2 separate regions of the Homo sapiens genome follow, and region 1 is linked to region 2. Evidence: promoter capture Hi-C in human tissues and cell types (Jung and others, 2019). All regions are on one chromosome and are shown on one strand. The core of a region is centred on a gene start or on the middle of the fragment in contact, and the rest is flanking DNA. Distances in the headings are between cores, read along the strand shown.

What was found. The method cuts DNA at HindIII sites, captures the fragments that hold promoters and counts their contacts. A contact is called where the count stands out against the background at its distance.
Region 1: a contact is called between a fragment that was not itself captured here and the fragment with the promoter of ETNPPL in region 2, in 2 of the 25 tissues and cell types used here (adrenal gland and liver).

The regions. Positions count from the first base shown.
Region 1 is chr4:108,823,837-108,828,689 of GRCh38, reverse strand. COL25A1 (collagen type XXV alpha 1 chain) reads left to right here. Exons shown (of 38, transcript NM_198721.4): 33 at 1,502-1,555; 34 at 3,468-3,494; 35 at 4,463-4,516. Among named protein-coding and RNA genes, the nearest start is that of ETNPPL, 63 kb to the right of the region's middle. The HindIII fragment of the contact is 3,359 bases long and covers 1-2,969 here.
Region 2 is chr4:108,761,168-108,765,738 of GRCh38, reverse strand. ETNPPL (ethanolamine-phosphate phospho-lyase) reads left to right here and starts at 2,686. Exons shown (of 13, transcript NM_031279.4): 1 at 2,686-2,896. The coding sequence starts at 2,841. The HindIII fragment of the contact is 8,640 bases long and covers 1-4,571 here.

The DNA of each region.
Region 1 (4,853 bases), core at 41-2,540, 64 kb before region 2:
ACTTCAATTTGGAGATGGCAGCAGCAGAAAACACCATTTGAAATACAGAACATCTCTTTCTTTATCATCACAATTATTCTATTCACAAGATTACCTCCAATAACACTTATTCTTTATAAGTGTTCAAGAATATCGTGTAAGATGGGGAAAGCTGTTCTATTTAAATAGGCACTTAGAGAGAAAGTGAGGAAGATAACATATACCTACCTTATCTGGCATTCAGAGGGGTTGAAAGTTTTTAAACCCTCTTTTTCAGGCCAGGCACGGTGGCTCACGCCTGTAATCCCAGCACTTTGGGAGGCTCAGGTGGGTGGATCACCTGAAATCAGGACTTCGAGACCAGCCCGGCCAACATGGTGAAACCCCATCTCTACTAAAAATACAAAAATTGGCCAGGCGTGGCGGGCACCTGTACTCCCAGCTACTCGGGAGGCTGAGGCAGAATTGCTTGAACCTGGGAGGTGGAGGTTGCAGTGAGCCGAGATTGTGCCACTGCACTCTAGCCCGGGCAACAGAGCAAGACTCTGTCTCAAAATAAAAAATAAATAAATCCTCTTTTTCAGAAAGGAAGCAAACTGTGTACATGATTATATAGATTTGCTTTGATTCATTCATTCAACAAACATTTACTGATGTGCCATACACTATTCTAAGCTGTAAGGATGCTATAGGGAACAACAAAGCTAGAGGCCCCAGAACCCTCCTGTGTATATTCTAGTGAGGGTAGCAGAGAATAAGCAGGTCATAAGCTTTATGGGTCTTCTGGTGTCTAAGGGCTGTGAAATAAAATATAGCTGGGGGTAGGAAGTGGGCAATCGAGAAAGGGTTTCCCTGAATAATTGTTTTTTGATAGAAGGAAAGGTATTTCAGGCCACACACTGTAGTTCAAGCCTGTAATCCCAACACTTTGGGAGTCCAAGGTGGGAGGATTGCTTGAGGCCCCAGAGTTCAAGACCAGCCTGGACAACATAGTAATCTCTACAAATAATTTAAAAACTACCTGGGCATAGTGGTGCTTGCCTGTAGTCCCAGCTACTCAGGAGGTCGAGGTGGGAGGATCACTTAGGCCCAGTAGTTTAAGGTTTCAGTGAGCCATGATCATGCCACTGCACTCCAGCCTGGATGAAAGAGGGAGACCCTGTCTCAAAAAAGAAAGACACTTTATTCTTACATTTAAAGGTGCTAACAAAATAATTAGTAACAAATAAATGTTTCACACTAATGCCAAAGAAACCTAAGTATGACATCTGAGATATGCAAATGCTTTTGCACAGCTGGCCAGCAGCAATCTTGTGCTGCCCCTCTTTCAAAGGTGATTTAGTAAAAGATGCTACTGTGGATTACTTTCCAAATATCACTGGCAGTGACTCTGCAAGAGGCTAAATCTTTGAGATTTTCATAGAATGGTCCTTGAAATAGAGGCTTTAGACATAGGGCATGAGAGAAAGTGTGTGAATGTAGGTGGGTGTGTATGATTTGAACTTTCTACTTTTCATTTTAGGGTGAAAAAGGAGCTATGGGAGAGCCTGGACCAAGAGGGCCCTATGGGCTGCCTGTGAGTTCCTGGTCACATGCACCTCCCCACCTTCCGCATGCATAGATGACCAGTCACTGACACGGTTAACCCTTCGCTTGTGGGGCAGACTAATGTTAGAGAAGAAACAACAATCCACTCATTATCTATAAATTCAGTACTTCCATGTCCTTCACAAATAGGTCATATTCAGTCTCTTGCCCTCTCATCATGTACAGACACATATCCAGGCACTTCACGAGATTGACAGGATCAGAGACTGTCTCTAGAATAAAGTATTAACTCGAGAACAGGATCCTAACTGTCAGAAGATGCCCTCCCTACATCATCTGACTGGACACTCATAACTGGCACTTCCTTGGAAAATCACTGGATCCAAAAATGGCTGTGGAAGCTTCACTGAAAACAGCCTTCTTCAGACTTTATCTGTTCCTATAGACTATTTACTAAAATGACTCTTGCTAGTAAAAATTATTCCCCCAATTACATTGATATTTATGACGACTTGATGTTTCTGACTTTCTAAATTACCGTGATGACAAATGATCTGCAGAACATAGAACACTGATAGTGCTCTGTCTTCTGAAAATTCTTCTCTTCTTATTATTATTATCATTTGAGATGGAGTCTTGCTCTTTTGCCTAGGCTGGAGTGCAGTGGCATGATCTTGGCTCACTGCAACCTCCACCTCCTGGGTTCAAGTGATTCTCCTGCCTCAGCCTCCCAAGTAGCTGGGATTACAGATGTGTGCCACCATGCCCAGCTAATTTTTGTATTTTTAGTAGAGATGGGGTTTCACTATGTTGGCCACGCTGGTCTCAAACTCCTGACCTCAAGTGATCCGCCCTTCTCGGCCTCTCAAAGTGCTCGATTTATAGGCGTGAGACACTGCGCCCGGCCTGAAAATTCTTAATTACACAGAATTCAAATTGAGACCTCTGGTTTGCTTTAAAAATATCATCTTGGGAATAATTATAATTGATTCATTAAGATAGGGTAGGACGACAGTAGAAGCGTACGTTGCATTAAGGGTTTTAACCTTTCCATATCTCACACATGCTCTTTATGAATTGAAATAATAAACATAAACCATGATTACCTCAGTGCTAAATCAAAAAAAAGATGCTGATTTTGAAATAGGTTTCAAAATCTAATTGATGAAATCAAAGTAACCTCTCGTGAACTTTGGATGGATCCATAATATGACACAATAGGGTCATCACCATGATAATCTGCACCATGGGAGTGAATTTATCATTCTTGCCTAACAGTCTTACAACTTTTAAAAAAAATTTGGGGATTATTCATTTACAAAGCTTACTTAAAAACAGCTTTTAAGTTGCAGCCTTCACATCCTTCGTACACAGTGTGCACATCCTAGCCAAATTAAAACTGTATTTCTACATTCTTTACTCATTTGTGAGCTAACTACTAAGTTATCAAATTAAAGTAGCATTGATTCACATCCTCTATTAGTGCTGGTATGTTTTTAAATCAGCTAAACAGTATTTTTGCTTTTAACTTAACTCCTGGACTGGTAACTTAGATACCAAGCTTTAAACATCAGTAGAATATTAGTCTATTTAACCCAATATATCATATAAAATTTTCATGACCCTTAACTTCAACACTAACAGTCACTAATCAACTAAACAGTATTTTTTACTTTTAATTTAACTCCTGGACTGATAACTTAGCTACCAAGGCTTAAACATCAGCAAAATATTAATCTATTTAACCCTATATATAATATAAAATTTTCATGACCCTTAACTGCAACACTAACAGTCACTAATCCAAATGAGAATCTTTTTCACATTTCTGAAGTAGTTGTTCTAGTACTAGTGTTGCATGTTCAGACAGCCTTAAATAAAGCAATAATCTATTCACAAAACTTAGAAACACTAATGTAGCTACTATGGTTCTTTGGCAGGGGAAAGATGGAGAGCCTGGTCTTGATGTAAGTAATAAGTACAATAAACATCATCCTATTATAATAGATGTTGATGGTCTCCATCATCGATAACAAAAAGAATACTTCTTTTTTTTCTGTGCATATAGGTATGCATAGAACATATATTGCTGTGCATGTAAACAGCAATATAAAATACACTAGTGTTTGCATGAGATAAAACAGAAAAGCAAAAAAACACAATTATCTTGTATAAAATTAATAACTGGTAGTGGATAGTGGCACTTCAAAATACTTTCCCAAATTGAGGGTACTCTTAACATCAGCATGACCTATTTATGAAAAATATGCATAAAATCAATATACTTCTCACATGCTATCCTTACAGAATGATATATTATGTTTTTTTCTCAAAGCAGTTATGCAATATTTTTTTCCTTTTAACATTTAGTCCCTATATATCTTATGCTAATATGATTCTGTGAAAATAGAGAATGTCAAAAGTAAATGCCTCTAGACACAATCACTGCTCATCCTGTATTACCTGAATAATGAGAATACCAAAAGTAATACTAGTTACTGTTTATGAGCACCTGTTATGGGCAGGCATCATTCTGGTACTTTGTAGTACATCATCACATTTAACATTCACAACAGCTGTCTGGTAGATATCATTAACCCCATTTTACAGTCAACGGACTAAAGTGCAGAGAGGTAAGTGATTTGCCCAAATCTGCACAAATCAGTGAACTTGCCAGAATTCAAACTAGTATTCTGGTATTCTTTCTACTCTGTATTTCTTAAAAGAAAAAGCAAGAAACCTGTTGTGTATAGATAATTGAGACATTAGAAAACTTATGTTTCTAAGCACTGCTTTATTATCTAAGTCTTAACACTGGTGAGCCATTTCTTGTTATATTTAAGCTCAGAAATGTAAAATCCTAAAATATTTGTTTCTATATGATTTTGCCACTATTACACCAATAGATCTTTTTGGTTTGCTTTTTATCTTACAGGGCTTCCCTGGTCCACGGGGTGAGAAGGGTGATCTAGGAGAAAAGGGAGAAAAGGTGACCTCTCCATCCCAGCATGTACCTTGTTTGATTCTTCTCCTGCTGTCTGCTTTGCTGTTCAGCTTGTGTGATTCCATTTGACACTTAATCTTTCTCCATCCTGTGCTCCAAAAACATACTGATGCCTGATTTAAGGAATCAGGTCTTCAGAGAGGAATGAAGAAGGCTGTACTGCCAGATATAAGGGCACTGCCTGGCATAGAAGAAAAAATTATTATCACCAGATATTCTAGCTACAGTTTTTCAACCACCTGACACCAATTTATGGAAAAATAAAGGATTTTTGAAAAAAAAATCATTTTAAAAAGTAAAATTAAATGACACAAATCTGCAG
Region 2 (4,571 bases), core at 1,437-3,936:
GAAAATATACCCCAAAATACCTTGGGATTTGTTTTTTGATAAAGCTTTGTATAGTGTGGATGTCTGTCGACTTTCATCCATCCTTATTTTGATCCATTATGTGTCAGTTCTTTATTTAAAGACTGTCCTTGGTACTCAGTCAATGTTATATATTCTATCGTGAAAAAAGTTAAATAATGGGGAAATTATCTTTTATGTAACAGTGACTTGCTTTCCCATAAAAGATAATGAATCTAAGAAGCCTTCTCCTAAATAAATGGTTAAAACATAAGGTAGCACTCTTGGGAAAGAGTGAAGAGAAAAGAAGAGGGTTCAGGACTCTACCCTTATAAAGACCAAATCATGATCTCATTCAAGCCCTACTTGTAATGCTTTGAGTCAGAGAGTTTCTTCTTTTTATGAGACAGGGTCTCACTGTGTCATCCAGGCTAGAGTGCAGTGGCACAATCTTAGCTCACTGCAGACTCTTCCTCCTAGGCTCAAGGGATCCTCCCACCTCAGCCTGCCGAGTAACTGAGATTACAGGTACACGCCACCATCTCTGGCTCATTTTTAAATTTTTTGTACAGACAGAATTTCACCAGGTTGCCCAGGCTGGTCTCAAACTCCTGAGCTCAAGTGATGCACCTGCCTCAGCCTCCCAAAGTGTTGGGATTACAGCTGTGTAGCTCCCCACCAGCCACAGAGCTCAGTTTTCAATACAAAGAAATTGGGCCTCAGAAAGGTTAAGAAGCCCAGCTGGTTTATGGAAGAACCAGATCTAGAACCCAAGACTCTTAATCCAGAGTTTCTTAAGGCACTGGGAATATTAACAACAAGAATCCATAAAGTTTTATGAAGGAAGTGTGACTATGACTTCACCAGGTCAAGGTGGTTTGAGAGTAGATATACAGTTGGCAATATCTTTCAGGCACAGAACTAGACCAAGATTACATAACTGGGATTTCTTGCAAGTCTCCAAAGTGCTTCCTGCTCTTCATTTATAAAACACGGAATTCTTTTTTTTTTCTTTTTTTTGTGGAGGGGGATGGAGTCTCACTCTGTTGCCCAGGCTGGAGTGCAGTGGCATGATCTCAACCCACTGCAACCTCTGCCTCCCAGGTTCAAGCAATTCTCCCTGCCTCAGCCTCCTGGGTAGCTGGGATTACAGGTGCCCACCACCACGCCCAGCTAATTTTTGTATTTTTTTAGTAGAGATGGGGTTTTGCTATGTTGGCCAGGCTGGTCTGGAACTCCAGACCTCAGGTGATTCGCCCAGTTTGGACTCCCAAAATGTTGGGATTACAGGCGTGAGTCACGGCGCCTGGCCTAAAATCTGGAATTAACACACTGTTCCTCATAGGACTCCATTTCTCTTTCTACCTTAGGCAATCCAATTCTACTCCTCCTGCAGTGCATGAATATATATTAATAACTTTTTTCAAGAGAAAGATCAGTTGCAAATACTTATCAAATGTGTTGATACATGCAAATTAGGCTTTCCCTGCTGCCCTTTCAAAACACAGAGAGAATAAAATGACCTATCCTTAACCCAATGACTAAGTGTTTGTGTGAACTTGAATAAACCTTCACCTTTCCTGTGCCTCACTGTTCTTATCTACAGAGCAGAGAAGTTAAACCAGATGACTTCTAGTTAAAATAATGTATGATTTAATGATTCAGTTAATTAAGATTCTATTGGGAGGCCGAGGCGGGGGGATCACGAGGTCAGGAGATCGAGACTATCCTGGCTAACATGGTGAAACCCCATCTCTACTAAAAATACAAAAATTAGCCGGGCGTAGTGACGGGCGCCTGTAGTCCCAGCTACTCGGGAGGCTGAGGCAGGAGAATGGCGTGAACCCGGGAGGCGGAGCTTGCAGTGAGCCGAGATTGCGCCACTGCACTCCAGCCTGGGTGACAGAGCCAGACTCCATCCTCAAAAAAAAAAAAAAAAAAAAAAAAAAAAAAAAAGTTTCTACCTGTGCACATATTTAGCTTCAGATATGATCTGTGTGAGAAGACCATCTTGAAGGAAGTCAAGAAATCTAAGAATGAGTCCCGTTTTCAGCATCAAGTGGATATATAATCATTAGAACAGGGAATAACCTCACTTTCCCCGTTCATTAAATGGGGTAACACTCGTGGTCATCTCTCAGGGTTGTTTTGAAGACTGAACAAGATAAGTCATGTGAATGTGTTTTGTAAGTTGTATAGTTAGAGGAATTAGAAGTGTAATCATTGTTAAAGGAGATGTTTGAAACACTGCATATATCATCACTGCCAATGGAGATAACAGGCTGAGTCCGGGTTATTTCTCGTTAGGACGCGTCCTTGTGCTGAGTAAATGGTAGGTTACCTTATCAGACTGCGCAGTGAGTCTTGATCCGGGAAGCGCCTAACTCCTGAATTTTTACCAGAAAATAAAGGACTACACTAAAAAGAAACCAGAAAGAACGTGGGAAGGAGGGAATTCGCAGGCAGAGGAGGAGGAAAAGCAAAGACGAGGCAAAGTTAGGAGAATGAAAGGCGAATTCAGAGGAATGATAGGGGCGGGTAGGGCCGAGCCGGCCTGGCAGGACAGGGTGGTGGCGAATGAGCTGCTAGCCCGGCGACCTGCCCGCGGCCCCGGCGGGGGAGGAGGAGGGGCTTGGCAAAGGGCAACGCCAGAGCCAGACTTAAAAGGGAGATGATCCTAGCTAGTTGACGCCACCGGTGACCTCCGACGCCCCGGGCAAGAGAACGCCAGGAGGGATAACGGGAGGAAGGCCGGCCGGGGCCGCCAAGGCAGTCCCAGGCTCGCGTAGGAGGCGCGCAGACCTTGCACCTTGCACCTTCGCAGCGCCCTGCACCCCGCCACCATGTGCGAGCTGTACAGTAAGCGGGACACTCTGGGGCTGAGGAAGAAGCACATCGGGTAAGGGCACCCTGGCCCGGAAGTAAGTGCAGAGAGGGGGCAATAACGAGTGCAGAAGGTGGAGAGAGAAAGCCGGCTAGGGAACAAACGATGCGCTGCAGCCGCACTCCGTGCCCGCCGCGCCTGTGCACGCGCCCCGCGCGCCTCCACCTGCAGGGGCCGCGCGGACTCCCAGAAACGCTCCTGGAACCCGGAACGCTGGGCTTCCTGCCCGCTCGAAAGTCCCCGGCTCGCTCTGCAGCCGGCGGACTAGCGGGGGCTGCCGGCCGGCTAGAGGGGTTGGTGGATGACGGCCAATAGCCCTAGCAGACACCATTCCAGGGATGGGAGATGGGTGGAAGAAGGATAGCGCTCCGCCACCCCCACACAACTCGAAAGTTTTTGGAAACTGTGAACTGAGAAATATTTTTTCATGATGGCTCCGCAAACAAACCAATTCTGACAATTTTTACTTAAAGTGAGCTTTTTCTTCTTGCATGCTTGGTTAAGTGATGAAGGGTTTATCTAGCCAATAGAAAAACTTGAAACCACCTTCTGTTAGAAAAGCAGAGACTTTATTTAGATCCCTCTTACCCAACTTGCTCTCCCAAGCTGTGTTCTTCCCAGCCTGCTTGTCTTGCCCCCGTCACAAACGACTTAGTAATATAAAGGTGAGTATATAAGACCGACAGGGGCTCTAGCTCTCGTTGGATGTCATATTCCCTGTGTGGACCTCTGTCAAATTAATTGTCTCTTCTATGAAAGTAGGAATAACATTCTACTTCACAGGAGCAAGAAGATGAGATTAATATGTTAGTGTTTTGTGCGTGGTTTTTAAAAAGATACGTGTAAATATAAATGATGATTAATGACCCCGAATACTGTAAAGTCAACCGTCTGCAATATTCACTTGAAATGAACGACTGCAGCCGGGCCAGTGGGCATGAGAGAGCACTTGGGGTTACAAGGAAGAAAACAATCCGCATCCTCTTCGGAGGAATGCTGGACAGTTTCTCAGACTGAAGCTCCTCACCCCAACTGGAGGGGTTTCTGGGTGGTTTGGAAGACTAGTTCCATCTCTCTCAGCCGCTAAGTGGGATCAAAATAATCCAGTTCTTTCCCCATTAATCAATCACTACCCTACTTTTTCTAATCACTCACTGCGTTAGTTTTCAATCTTAGTTAGATTCCGGTAAATGCCTAATGGTTTCTGACATGAGCAGAACAAATTTTCTAAAAGCACGAGTGTAGCCATGGGCTGACTGGATAAAGGAGAATTTTACCTGAAGTCTGACGGGCAAGGTGGAAAGTGTATTAAAAAGGCAATGTGAAGTCTGCAGCTTTCAGCTCACATCCTTAACAAAGTTTTTTTTTGGATTTTAACTTGTAGGTATAAACTAACAGCTGAGTTTGAACCAATAAGAAATTCTTATAAAATACTATTTTCATTTCAGCTGATGATGCTTAAAAAAAATCAATATATAACACAACCTTATGCAATTTTAAAATTTGAGGTTACCTACTGTTTGTAATAATCAAAATTCCTTCTAAACAGTTACATATCAATTTAGTATATTTCTACTACTAGAACTACCTCCAATGTGTGTGAGGGTTTTTTTGTATGTATGCAAAATCACCAAAATAAATAAATATATTTAACTTTAGTTCTTAAATGTTCATAAAGCCAAGATTAGAA